2 separate regions of the Homo sapiens genome follow, and region 2 is linked to region 1. Evidence: promoter capture Hi-C in 16 types of primary human blood cells and fetal thymus (Javierre and others, 2016). All regions are on one chromosome and are shown on one strand. Each heading gives the region's core, a stretch centred on a gene start or on the middle of the fragment in contact. The rest is flanking DNA. Distances are from core to core; before and after follow the strand shown. Region 1 holds the start of CDHR1 (cadherin related family member 1). Region 2 has its middle 110 kb from the start of GHITM.

The links. Contacts are between HindIII fragments. The CHiCAGO score rates a contact against its expected background, and 5 or more counts as called.
Region 2: a contact is called between a fragment that was not itself captured here and the fragment with the promoter of CDHR1 in region 1, in 1 of 17 cell types (neutrophils). The highest score is 5.7, in neutrophils.

What each region holds. Positions count from the first base shown.
Region 1 is chr10:84,192,462-84,197,887 of GRCh38, reverse strand. CDHR1 (cadherin related family member 1) reads right to left here and starts at 3,351. Exons shown (of 17, transcript NM_033100.4): 1 at 3,073-3,351; 2 at 2,299-2,394; 3 at 1,238-1,383; 4 at 52-102. The coding sequence starts at 3,127. RefSeq lists silencers at 3,136-3,255, 3,326-3,455. The HindIII fragment of the contact is 5,936 bases long and covers 1-5,426 here.
Region 2 is chr10:84,025,410-84,031,728 of GRCh38, reverse strand. No RefSeq gene overlaps it. Among named protein-coding and RNA genes, the nearest start is that of GHITM, 110 kb to the left of the region's middle. The HindIII fragment of the contact is 2,537 bases long and covers 540-3,076 here.

The DNA.
Region 1 (5,426 bases), core at 2,102-4,601:
TCAGGCCCAAATACTGCAGGCTGCCAGGGACTGCCTTGGACGTGCACTCACCAGATTCAGGCCATCAGAAATGCTGATGATGGCTTCAATCTCATCTTCCCTCTGTGAAGCACAGGGACTGAGTGAGTGTCCAGGAGTCTGACACGCCATAGGACCCCTGTGGCTGGATGGAGCTCTCCCTGCCCCACGCACCCATCAGAGGAGGTCTGGGCGTGCCAATAGATCCCTGGAGCAGGGTAAGTGGTGGTGACAGCATGCCTGGCAGAGTAGAAAGCTGCCTCCCCCCATGCTTGAGACCTTATTTTGGGACTTTTGTGTCCGGGGTTCTTATAAACTCAGAGACCCAGAGGGTCTGTTGGGGCTCCAACAGAAAATACTCTCCTGCCACAGTGAGGCGAGATGTCGACCTTAGTGTGCTCAAGGTCCCATAAAGACTTTTCCTCTTTCTTTTCCCTTTTCTCCCCTTTTCTCTCCACACCTCTCCACATTCCAGGGCTCTGCAGAGGCTCACATCCATGGTGTCTCAGTGCTCCCAGGATATGGTGAGACCTCAATGGGGAAGGGTATCGGATGTTGCCAGATCCCGCGGGTGCCAGGGAGTGGGGTACTGGCAGCACAGTCAGGCTCCACTGCTGTGTCCCCACAGCAGTCCCTGAGACCTCCCTTTCCTTTCTCTACCCTGTCCTGCAGCTAGTGGAGGCTGTCACGAGCTGGCAGCATCCCCACAGCTGAGGTCCAGTTAGCCACACACCAGGCTGCTATGCGGTCTGAAAAAGCCCATGCCCTGTTGCCTGCAAGTTCTCAAGTGTGTAGAGTGGAGGAGCTCTGCCAAACTCAGACTCACTGCCAACCACCCTTTCCAGCCTTGACCTGCTCTGAGTTCCTGTGCCTCTCCCAGGACAGGCTTGAAAAATCACTTTGTGAGGTTTCTTTCAGAAACCTCAAAGTGCAAACGGATTTATTTTTAATGGAACATGCTTAAAAGATTAGCAGGGCTGGCAGGTGCTCGTTAAAGGAGCCCACTCTTCGCTCTGTGTGAAGGAGGAGCATGAAAGTAAAGCCCACTCTGCTGATGGGAAGTGGCCCAGAGATCTCACAGAGTGGATGTGCCTGGGGTGTGCCCCCTCATCCCCTACTCTGTGGAGAGGTTCTAACCAATGTGCTCCAGGGGAACTTCAGCCCACCGAGGTCTGTCTACAGGCAGTGGCCCCGCAGCACTCCCCACACCTCCCCATACCTCTCTGTCCAGCTCTTCAACCAGGGTGATGTTTCCAAAAGTGGGGTCAACAGAAAAGACGCTTCTAGTGCTGGGGTCAAAGCTGATGTGGTAGGAGATGGGGTCTCCCTCAGGGTCTGTCCCATTCAGGGTGTATACGTGAGAGCCTGGAAGGAAACACAGTGGAGAGACATAGAATCTGAGACCCAACTTTTCCTAAAAGTGGCAGATGCTCAGGACCAACGATTCAGCTGTTTATAAAGTGACTATTCAACTCAGTGCCAAAGGTACTGCCCTGAACTTGGTGCTCATTGCTGGCCTCACCCCTGCTGGCTGCTTCCCTCTTTGTATGTTTATTCTTCACAGCGGGTGGTTGTGATGATCAGCCACTTTCCAGATTGTAATCTATAACACGGGTTACAGAGCAGGTGCAGGTCTGCCGTGCCTAACTGTAGTGCCTATGTTCTGCTCAGCCTGGTAATAACTCCTCTCTCAGGATCCAAGATTGAGGGGCTCCTGGGTACAGGGAAGGGGAAATGGGAGCAGCCATTAAGGCAGGAGGGGTGACCCACAGTGCACCACTGTCCCCGATGCCTGGACCTGGTTCTGCAGGGATTTCTGAGCCAGGTGCCTACTTTGCTCTGCTCTCCCTTTTCCCCGGGTTCCCACTACCCACAAAGTGAGGGAGAAGGAGTGTGAAATCTCCCCTTTCTCCTCCCCTCTCTCTGCATATCTCAGCAAGTTGGATGTTCTTAGGCCGTTTTAAAGCCTAGAGACCTGGGGCTCAGGGAGGTAAATACATTTGTTCAAGGTCACACAGCCATAAGGGGCAGCTGTAGCTGCCTGCCTCGCGGGGCGACCCTGTCTGTGGGGGGGAGCCCTGGTCTCCAGGACTGGCCAGACTTAAGTCGCCATGGCAGCAATGACCTTCTTTCCTGCCATTGCCCAGGGGAATTCGGAGAGCAAACAAGGAGCCCCCGGGCGCGCGCAGCAACTTGGGTGGTGCCTGGGGCACTTTGTGTTCTAAGTCTGCCTGCACCCCTCAGGGAGACCTATCGGGAGCAGGTGCCAGGGCTACTCACCTACAGGGGTGTCCTCTGGGAGGCTGAACAGAGCCATGTTTCCGTTGGTGCTGCCGACCCCGTTGTCGAAGAAGTGCGGGGCGAAGTTGGCCTGAGCTGGAAAAAGAACACAGAACAGACGGACACCCAGGCAAAGGACACCCAGACACCAGGAGGGAGCTTCGCACCAGCGCGGTCCCGCGTCAGGCCCAGCTACTGGGCAGGAGGGCGCTCCGCCTCCCCAACCCAAGTGCACCGAGGGACCCCACTGGGGCGCCGCCCAGAGGATGCCCCTGACCCCCACTCCGCCCCCGGTGGGCTCGGGCTTGTCAGGGACACGTAGCATGTGGGCGCTTAGAACCCAGGTAGCAATCCAACCCCTCCTTCATCAATGGGCAGATTGCACCCGCGCTCGGAGAGGGGCAGTGCCCCAGCCCAGCCAAGGTCAAGCCGCGAGTCAGGGCACTATCTCCTGCCCCACGCAGCATCGGAGCTGCCACCAAGCCTACAGCTCTGGTTCCCAGCAAGCGGAGAGCAGCGGGGGTCCGGGCGCCAAACCCTGGGGCCCTAGGATGCCAGCTCTGGAGAAGCGCCCCGGAGCTCCCCACTACTCCGCTACCCCACTCCCCACTACCGAATGGGCCAGGAAGATGGAAGGACTTCTCCGCTCCCGTCCACCAGCCCGAGTCCCACTCTGGAAGTGGTCCAGGACCATGTCCCTCTGGCCACCTGGGTGACGCCAGCGCCCATCTCCCTCGCCATCCACGCGGCCAGCGCGGCCCAGCGGCCACTCACCCAAGCAGAGGCGCAGCAGCCCCAGGGCCAGGGCGGCCCACCGGCAGCGCCTCATGTCTCCGCCGGCGCGGAGTGTCGCCTGCCGCCGCCGAGACCGGGCGCAGGGGCACGGAGCATGCCCTGGGCCCGCGGGGAGGGCAGAGACCACAATGGGGGTAGCGGCGACTGCAGCCGCGGCGGGAGGGGGCACGGGGCGGGAGCGGCGGGTGGCGTGAGGGCGCTAAGAGGATGACACGGCTCGGATCTGCTCCTGCCGGCCGCCTGACGAGACCAATTAGCGGCGCAGAGCGGAGCGACAGGCTCCCAGCCGCGGGCGGGGGCAGGAGGGCGTGACAAGAGGACTCCCCGCCCGCCACGCCCCCTTTGCCGGCGGCCCCCAGTCCTGGACAGGAGGACACCATGGGGGACAGGAGTGTCTTTCCCCCAAGTTGTCCTGAGGCTTTCCCAGGGTACTTAAGTCCTGGTGGGGCTTGGGCTTCGCAGTTTTCTTTTCTCATCAACTTCCTCTGTGACTTTCAGGGGCTTAGCTGTCTTCTCTGAGCTAAGCATTCCAGAAGAAAAGTTAGTGGAGCGGCCGAGAGGGCCTTGCCTTAGCAGTCTAAGCAGGTTCTATAAGCCGCGTGAGACCAAAGGCAAAGAGAAAGGGTGATGGATGGGCAGCAGATGGTAAGGGGTTATCAGGACCCCCTCTCTGTGATCTCAACCCATTCCTGCCCTGTTCCCCAGGCTGGACCACCTCTCCCAAAGGGTCTGATCTGTGTGGTGGGCAGCAGGGAGGACCCTCAGGTGTCCACCAGGGTGAGAGGCAGTTCTGCTCCCCATTCCCAGTCAGTGCCCAGTCTGGGACCATGAAGGGGCAGCTGACCCACTCTTCAAACCTTCCAAGGAAGAGTGAAGGGCCTGAAGGCAGAGTTAAGCCCCATCTTAGGACAGACTTGCACAGAGCTGGCCAAGATAGATCTGAACTGCCCGAGAGGCACGAGATCTCATTCCTAGAGGGTATTTACACAAAGCAAGGCACTGCTATTGGGGTCCTGGATGCTGATAACTTGAAGACACAGGTAAGCCCAGGAACCTTTTTGGCTGCTGGTAAAGCTCCTTGGGCTTCCTCGTTCTCCTGCTCTGACACTGGAGGGTGCTTGGAAATGCAGCCTGTTTTCCTTTTCCTGGTTGGGCCATTTATGGGGGTACAGGTCACTTCAAGCCCAAGCCAGGCCACTTCCCAGGATGCCCTTGGGTGGATGTGTTCTCAGATAGAGGAGATCCCTCCTCTGTGTGCTCCTGGGAGAGGTCTCCACAGCTGAGGACTCAGCATTCCCCCCCTCCCCCTGCCAGGGGCCTTTGAGGGAACAGAGCACCCCCCATCCCTTGGTCTAGCCCTACATGATCTACTGTGAGCAAGGGTCAGGGATTTGCAGAGAAGAAGGAAGATGAATCAATGGTTTTAGAATGTGCAGCAGTTTTCAGGCCTAATTGGCCGAAACCCTTGTTGAGTCTCCTTAGGCTTGGCTCTTTTGCTGAAAAGACACACTTTAAATTGCACAGATGTTCTGAATCTGCCTCCCAAAGTGCTGGGACAAAGCTAAGGCAAGTATTCTGCAAGTCCCATATAGGGATGTGGAGACTGAGTCTTGCCGTGGATTTCCCAGGAGCCAGAGGCAGAGCCAAGGTTTCCTGGAGTAGATGTCTTGGTGGGCCGAGAAAAGCCAGCTCTCCCTGGGTCCTGTTAGCCCTGCTCCTCACCAATCTAGGGCCGTTGATTTCTCTCTCCTCAGTTCCCTCAGTCAACAGCCATGCACTGGAGAGGGAAGGGGAAGGAGTAGCCTACATGCCATGTGCTGTATGTGTGCTTATGTATATTTGCCCATATTATCTTATTTGACCTGCACTGCTCTCCCAATGTGATTTTCTCTGCTTTGCAGAGGAGGGAGATTTCCTCATTGGCTGTGTACGACCAAGCAAGTGACTTATTCTCTCTGAGGTGCAGAGCTTGGATTCACATACAGTTTGGGTTGGCTCCAAAGAAGGTTCAAACTCTTTTTTTTTTTGAGCTGGAGTCTCACTCGGTCACCCAGGCTGGAGTGCAATGGCGGATCTCAGCTCACTGCAACCTCTGTCTCCTAGGTTCAAGTGATTCTCCTGCCTCAGCCTTTCAAATATTGGCATTACAGGTGCACGCCACCATGCCCAGCAAATTTTTTTTCTTTTTTTTTTTTTTGGTAGAGACGGGGTTTCACCATGTTGGCCAGGCTAGTCTTGAACTCCTGACCTCAGGTGATCCACCCATCTTGGCCTCCCAAAGTGCTGGGATTACAGGCATGAGCCACTGTGCCCGCCTGGTTCAAACCCTTTTC
Region 2 (6,319 bases), core at 559-3,058, 160 kb after region 1:
CATAAAAGTTTTGGTGGGACACAATTGAACCCATAACAATGAGTATAGACAAGCTTTAAAGTGGACAGAGAAATGGAATTTGGTAGAAGGAGATGTAGGATAAAAAATATATATAGTTAAAGATGAAATGATTAAAATTATGTACGTTGATAGGAATTAGCCAGTAGAAAGGAGAAAAATTGGTGATTCAGGATAGAGAGGGAACAATGGCTTGAGGGAGGTCCTTGAGTGGGTAAAAGGGTACAAGATCCATTGTCTAAGCAGAAGCATAGGCCCGAGAAATGAGTGAGGACAACCTTCCCTTAGTAGCAGGAGGGAAGGCAGAGATGTATGTGTACAGATGGGGGTAGGCTGGTAAACACGGCACTGGAAGGGTATGGAAGTTTTCTTTTGTTTGTGTTTTGTGAGGGAATGGAAATAAACTGATAGGGTGGGGAGGAGGTGAGAGGGGTTTGTCAAGAGAAGAGAGGCTGTGAAATAGTCTTATGGGATAATGAGGTAAAGGAATGTAGCAGAATTGCCAGGGCACACTAAAAGCTTGGTTTAGTAACTGTGAATTTAAGTCAGTATGTTTGGGTGCTTGTTTCCAGCTGCAGTTAACTGTGGGAGTGCAGGTACAGAGTAGGCACAAAGTTAGATTTAACTAGGGATTATTTTTTTTCCAGATGAAAACTGCAGAGTGAGAGGCAAAGAAGTTGAGGGAATTTCTAAGGGAGTGATTATAGGATGGACAATGAGTTTGGATCAGTGGATTGAAGGTCCTGGTAAGGTTAAGAGTTTCTGAGAATTGAAGTATTGTGGAATACATTGGGAAGATCACACCACTCCTCTGTTCAAAAGTCTCAATGGTGACACATCTGAGTAACAGCAAAAGTCCTTACCGTGGCTGATTAGGTTGCCCTACAAGATCTGCTTTCCCATCCCCTACCCATGTTTCTACCCTTATTTCCTCCTTCTCCCTCATGGTCCTTTTTGACCACACTGGTCTACTCATTGTTTCTTGAACACCCAGATAAGCTCCCATCTCATGTCCTTTGCATTTACTATTTGCTCTTTTGGGAACAGTCTTCTTCCAGATGACTTCCTGTCTCAGTCCTGCAGCATTCAGGTCTTAGCTCAAATATTTTGTGTGTGTATGTGTGTGTATTTCCCTGGCCACCCTTTAAATAAGTGGACCTCTTCAATACTGCCTAACCTTCTTTCTTGCTTTATTTTTTTGTAGCACTTATTACAAATTAAATGGTATACATTTGGTTTATCATCTCCCTCAATCCTATGTAAGTTCAAGAAGGGTATAGATTTTTGCCCATTTGGATCAGTCATATATCACCAACATCTTGAACAGTGCCTGGAACAACATTCATTTCATTGGATGAGTGAATGAAATATAGAAATGATGAACAGAGTGTAAGTCTTCAAACTGAACTTAGAGAGAAAGGACAAGTATGGATAAAGCATAAGACAATCTAGAATATGACTGAGAGTCATGGCAGATATACAGTAGAGGATAAATTTTTTGGAGAAGAGAATGTCAAGAAAATGAGAGGTCAGGGAGTCTTACTTCCAAGAATTTCAAAATCACTAGGAATTATGGTGAGTCACGTTAGAGAGAGTGACAAGGAATGGGGAGACAAAACCTAGGGATGCCGAGGTCCATTGAAGACTTCAATAGGAGGAAATGATACATTGTCTAATGGTGCAGGCTTCAAGGCTGGGTGTTTAGGGAAGAGAAAGGGAAATTGTTTTAGGATCTGCTACAAAGAACAAGCAGAATACCCTACCCCGTCACCAGGCCCAGTGATAGGAAGCATGTGCTTGAGAAAATCACCAGCCCTGGAGAAGAGTGCAGGGGAAGCAGTATTCTCAGGGAAAACAGTTTCTGTAAAGCGGAAAAACAAAGGGAACTCTTCAAAAAACATTATTGAAATAGAGATTTTGTTGATAATGCCTTGTGATTTTATAGGTTACAGAGGAAAAGGTCTTTAGGAGTTGGAGTAAAAGTAGGGATTTGAGAAGGAGAGGATCTGAGTGACCAGGAGTCTGAGAGTCTTGGTCTTCTTGTGATGATCAGGTAGAGAGCAAGGAGGAATTAGCCTTGCTGGAATCAATGTAAGCTATTTGGCAAAGCTGTGAATGTCAGAGAATGGGGAACGAAGAGAGAGGTGGTGGAATCCAGCCAGGGTTATTATATACTTGGGCATTTCCTCTTCCCTTCTGCCAATGGTAATGAGGAGGCCGGGAAGGATGGCCTTATCTGGAGCATACAGGACTGGAATAAATCCATATTCCCTTTGTATTAGGTTTCTAGGGCTGCCATCACAAAGCATCACAGACTGGGTGACTTTAACAATGGAAATTAATTTTCTCATGGTTCTGGAAAGTGAAAGCCAACATCAAGATGTTGGCAGGGTTGGTTCTTTCTGAGGCCCCTCTCCTTGACTTGCAGATGGCTAATGCAAGTCAAGGACCTAATGACCTCATTTTACCTTAATAACCTCTTTAAAGGCCTTAGCTCCAATACTGTCAAAATTGTTAGGGCTTCAACAGTTTTTGGGAAACACAATTCAGTCCATAACACCTTTCATTCCGGAATAAATACACAGCCACCCAAAGGGACCATTTTTATGTCATTGTTATTATTACTCCTTTATTGCAGAAGAAAACACAGACCCAGAAGTTTCAGTAACTTGCTGAATCACATTGCCAGGGCAGATTCTGAAACTCACTCTAAAGCATCAAGACAATCTTCCCTGTGCAGATCTAGACCAGTGTCTGGAACATAGTGGGTACAATAAAGAGTAAACAAATGAGTAATTTTTATTCCAAGTGACTTCTCTGTATTGCCAAAAATGAAATCTGAATAAGAAAGTTCATCACTAGTGAGGAAAGACAAAGAACTTCAACATTTATTGATTATCTGTAGAGTCCAGTATATTAACCAATTATGTTATACTTTATGTTGTTTGTTCCAGAATAACTGTGTTCAGATTGCAGCATAAAGAAGCCCTGTGGATACAAAGAATATTTAAGATATGGTAAAATAATTCAATTCCGAAATATAATTTCTGAACAAGCTTGGGAATAAATGCATGGTTTTCCACAATGATGACTTCAAAGGAAATGGTGCCCACTTGGATCTTTGATGGGGCCTTTCTATGTTGCCCAGGCTGACTTTGAACTCCTGGGCTAAGGGATTCTACCACCTAAGCCCCCCACATAACTGGGATTACCGGAGTGCGCTACTGTGCTTGGCCATGGATCTTTTAACATTTTATATACTAAAAGAGAAACATTTTTATGGCTTCAGTTCACATCCTTCTATTTGTATTATTGTAAGCAGATTACTGTGTTTGGAAAGGTCAGTTCTCAAGACTTCCCTTTCCACTTAGCAATTAGTTCCATGCTTTATATGTGCAATGTAAACTATATATCAATTACTTGGAGCATTTTTGTTTTGAAGTGTTTTCCTTTTTGTTTCATCTGAAGAAATGCTCACAGCCCATTTTATTAGACTCAGAAAAACCTTCTTGTCCTATTCCCAAATCATCCAATTTCAAGTTTGCCAAAGTTGACAGGTATGGGAGAGGTCTTTACCATACTGGTGAATTACATAAGGACAAATTTATTTGCTTTGATTTTTAAAGGCATCCAAGGAGGGGGGAAAGGGAAGTAAATGCTTGGTTATTTAGTACAGTCCTGACTCTCCATGTGGTTTCTAACTTCAGCATCCTGTCTTTGTTCACTGTACCTTCACGTTTCAGTGCTCCTCCAAGGGGGCTGTTGGGCTCCTGGAGTTATCTGTCCATCAAAGCCAGAAGCCAACTCCTGGAGGCTGAGCTTGAGCCCAGGCATGTCTAGGAGATGTCTCTATCTAGGTCCTACCTAACAGGTGATTTTCTCATTCTACCATGGGTAGCTATATTAATATAGCAGATACCTTGGACAGCAAAGTACCACCCACATTAGCTCCATGATGCTTGGGTCTGGAAAGCTGAATCTTTGAGGCTGTGTAACTCTCTAGATGGGACTGGGTTCATAAGACTTCAGTTCCATTGGTGATGTACAGGCTGCAAAGCACAGCACAGCGTAGGAAGGGCACTACATCCATCGGATGGCCATTCAGCTCTTCTTCCCCTGCTCTTCCAGCTCAGCCCACTTGCACCTATTGATACATTTTATCTATTGTCTTTTAAAAAGTGTATTGAGGTAAAATTGTTGTACAATAAACTGCATCCATTTAGAGTACACAGTTTAATGATGCATTTCCTGACAAATATATATATCCATGAAACCACCAAGATAATCAATATATAGAACATTTACATCATCCCCAAATTTCCTCCATGCCACTTTGTAGCCAATCCTATCCTGCCCTCCTCTCTAGTCGCAGACAACCACTATTCTGCTTTTTGTCTTTATAGATTAAGAAGCATTTTCTGAAAATTTGCATAAGTGAAATCATCCAGTAGGCACTCTTTTGGGTCTGACTTCTTTCACTTAGGATAATAATTTTGAGATTAAGTCTACCATTTTTTATTTATCCCTTTTGTGTCTTGTTCCTTCATTCTCCCTTTCTTCTTGTTTTTGAATTACTTAAATATTTTTGAATTTTTTTTTCTTTGTGGCATCCTTAGGAATTAGGCTATACATTTAGGCCAGTTATCAATTTGGTGCCATTCAATTCCAGATCCACCCTTTGTTTCCCCTTTGCCAACTGGTGCAATCTTATGCTCTGCCAATAGAGGGCATGAGAGGGCTGCAAGTCTGGCAGAAAAAAAAAAAAAAAAGCTTTTCCTGGTTCTTGGGGTCTTTTTTCTCCTATGGCATGGCTGCCAGCACACTAGTATGCAGAAGGTCCAGGAGTCCTCACTCTCCAGAGTGTTTTTCTGCTACCAGGAGGCCTCTGCCTGCTGACTAGCTCAGGTCCACCAGCACCCCAGCAGGCCATGCCTTGTGGGCCAGCTGCAGCTGGCTCGCACCCTCTGGTGGGTTTCTGTGCCATCCCATGGGCTGCTCCTGCAGACCAGCTTTATTCCACATAGCCTGGCAAATTTCTTTACCTCTGGAGGCCTGTGTGCTTCTGTGATGGCTACGGCCTCTCCAAAGAGGCTTTAATCTCAGCCTTGGAGGGAAAAGGGTCTTCCAAATTCTTAGTTCCTTCATTGTGTCATCTCTTTCAGCCCTAGAGATACAGGTTGAACATCTCTTATCCAGAATTCTTGGGGACAGAAGTGTTTTGGATTTTTAATTTTTTTTGGCATATTTACATATACATAATGTGCTATCTTGGGGATGGGACCCAAGTTTATGTTTCATATACATCCTATACAGATAGTGCAAAGGCAATTTCATATAGCAGTTTTTTTTTTATTATTATACTTTAAGTTCTGGGATACATGTGCAGAACGTGCAGTTTGTTACATAGGTATACACGTGACATGGTGGTTTGCTGCACCCATCAACCCATCATCTATATAAGGTATTTCTTCTAATGCTATCCCTCCCCTAGCCCCCCACCCCCCGACAGGCCCCGGTGTGTGATGTTCCCCTCTCTGCGTCCATGTGTTATCACTGTTCAACTCTCACTTATGAGTGAGAACATGCAGTGTTTGGTTTTCTGTTCCTTGTGTTAGTTTGCTGAGAATGATGGTTTCCAGCTTCATCCATGTCCCTGCAAAGGACATGAACTCATCCTTTTTTATGGCTGCATAGTATTCCATGGTGTATATGTGGCACATTTTCTTTATCCAGTTTATCATTGATGAGCACTTGGGTTGGTTCCAAGTCTTTGCTATTGTGAATAGTGCTGCAATAAACATACCTGTGCATGTGTCTTTATAGTAGAACATTTTATAATCCTTTGGGTATATACACAGTAATAGAAGTGCTGGGTCAAATGATATTTCTGGTTCTAGATCCTTGAGGAATTACCACACAGTCTTCCACAATGGTTGAACTAATTTACACTCCCACCAACAGTGTAAAAGCATTCCTATTTCTCCACATCCTCTCCAGCATCTGTTGTTTCCTCACTTTTTAATGATCGCCGTTCTAACTGGTGTGAGATGGTATCTCATTGTGGTTTTGATTTGCATTTCTTTAATGATCAGTGATGATGAACTTTTTTTCATATGTTTACTGGCTGCATAAATGTCTTCTTTTGAGAAGTGTCTGTTCATATCCTTTGCCCACTTTTTGATGGAGTTGTTTGTTTTTTTTCTTGTAAATTCATTTAAGTTTCTTGTAGATTTTGGATATTAGCCCTTTGACAGATGGATAGATTGCAAAAATATTCTCCCATTCTGTAGGTTGCCTGTCC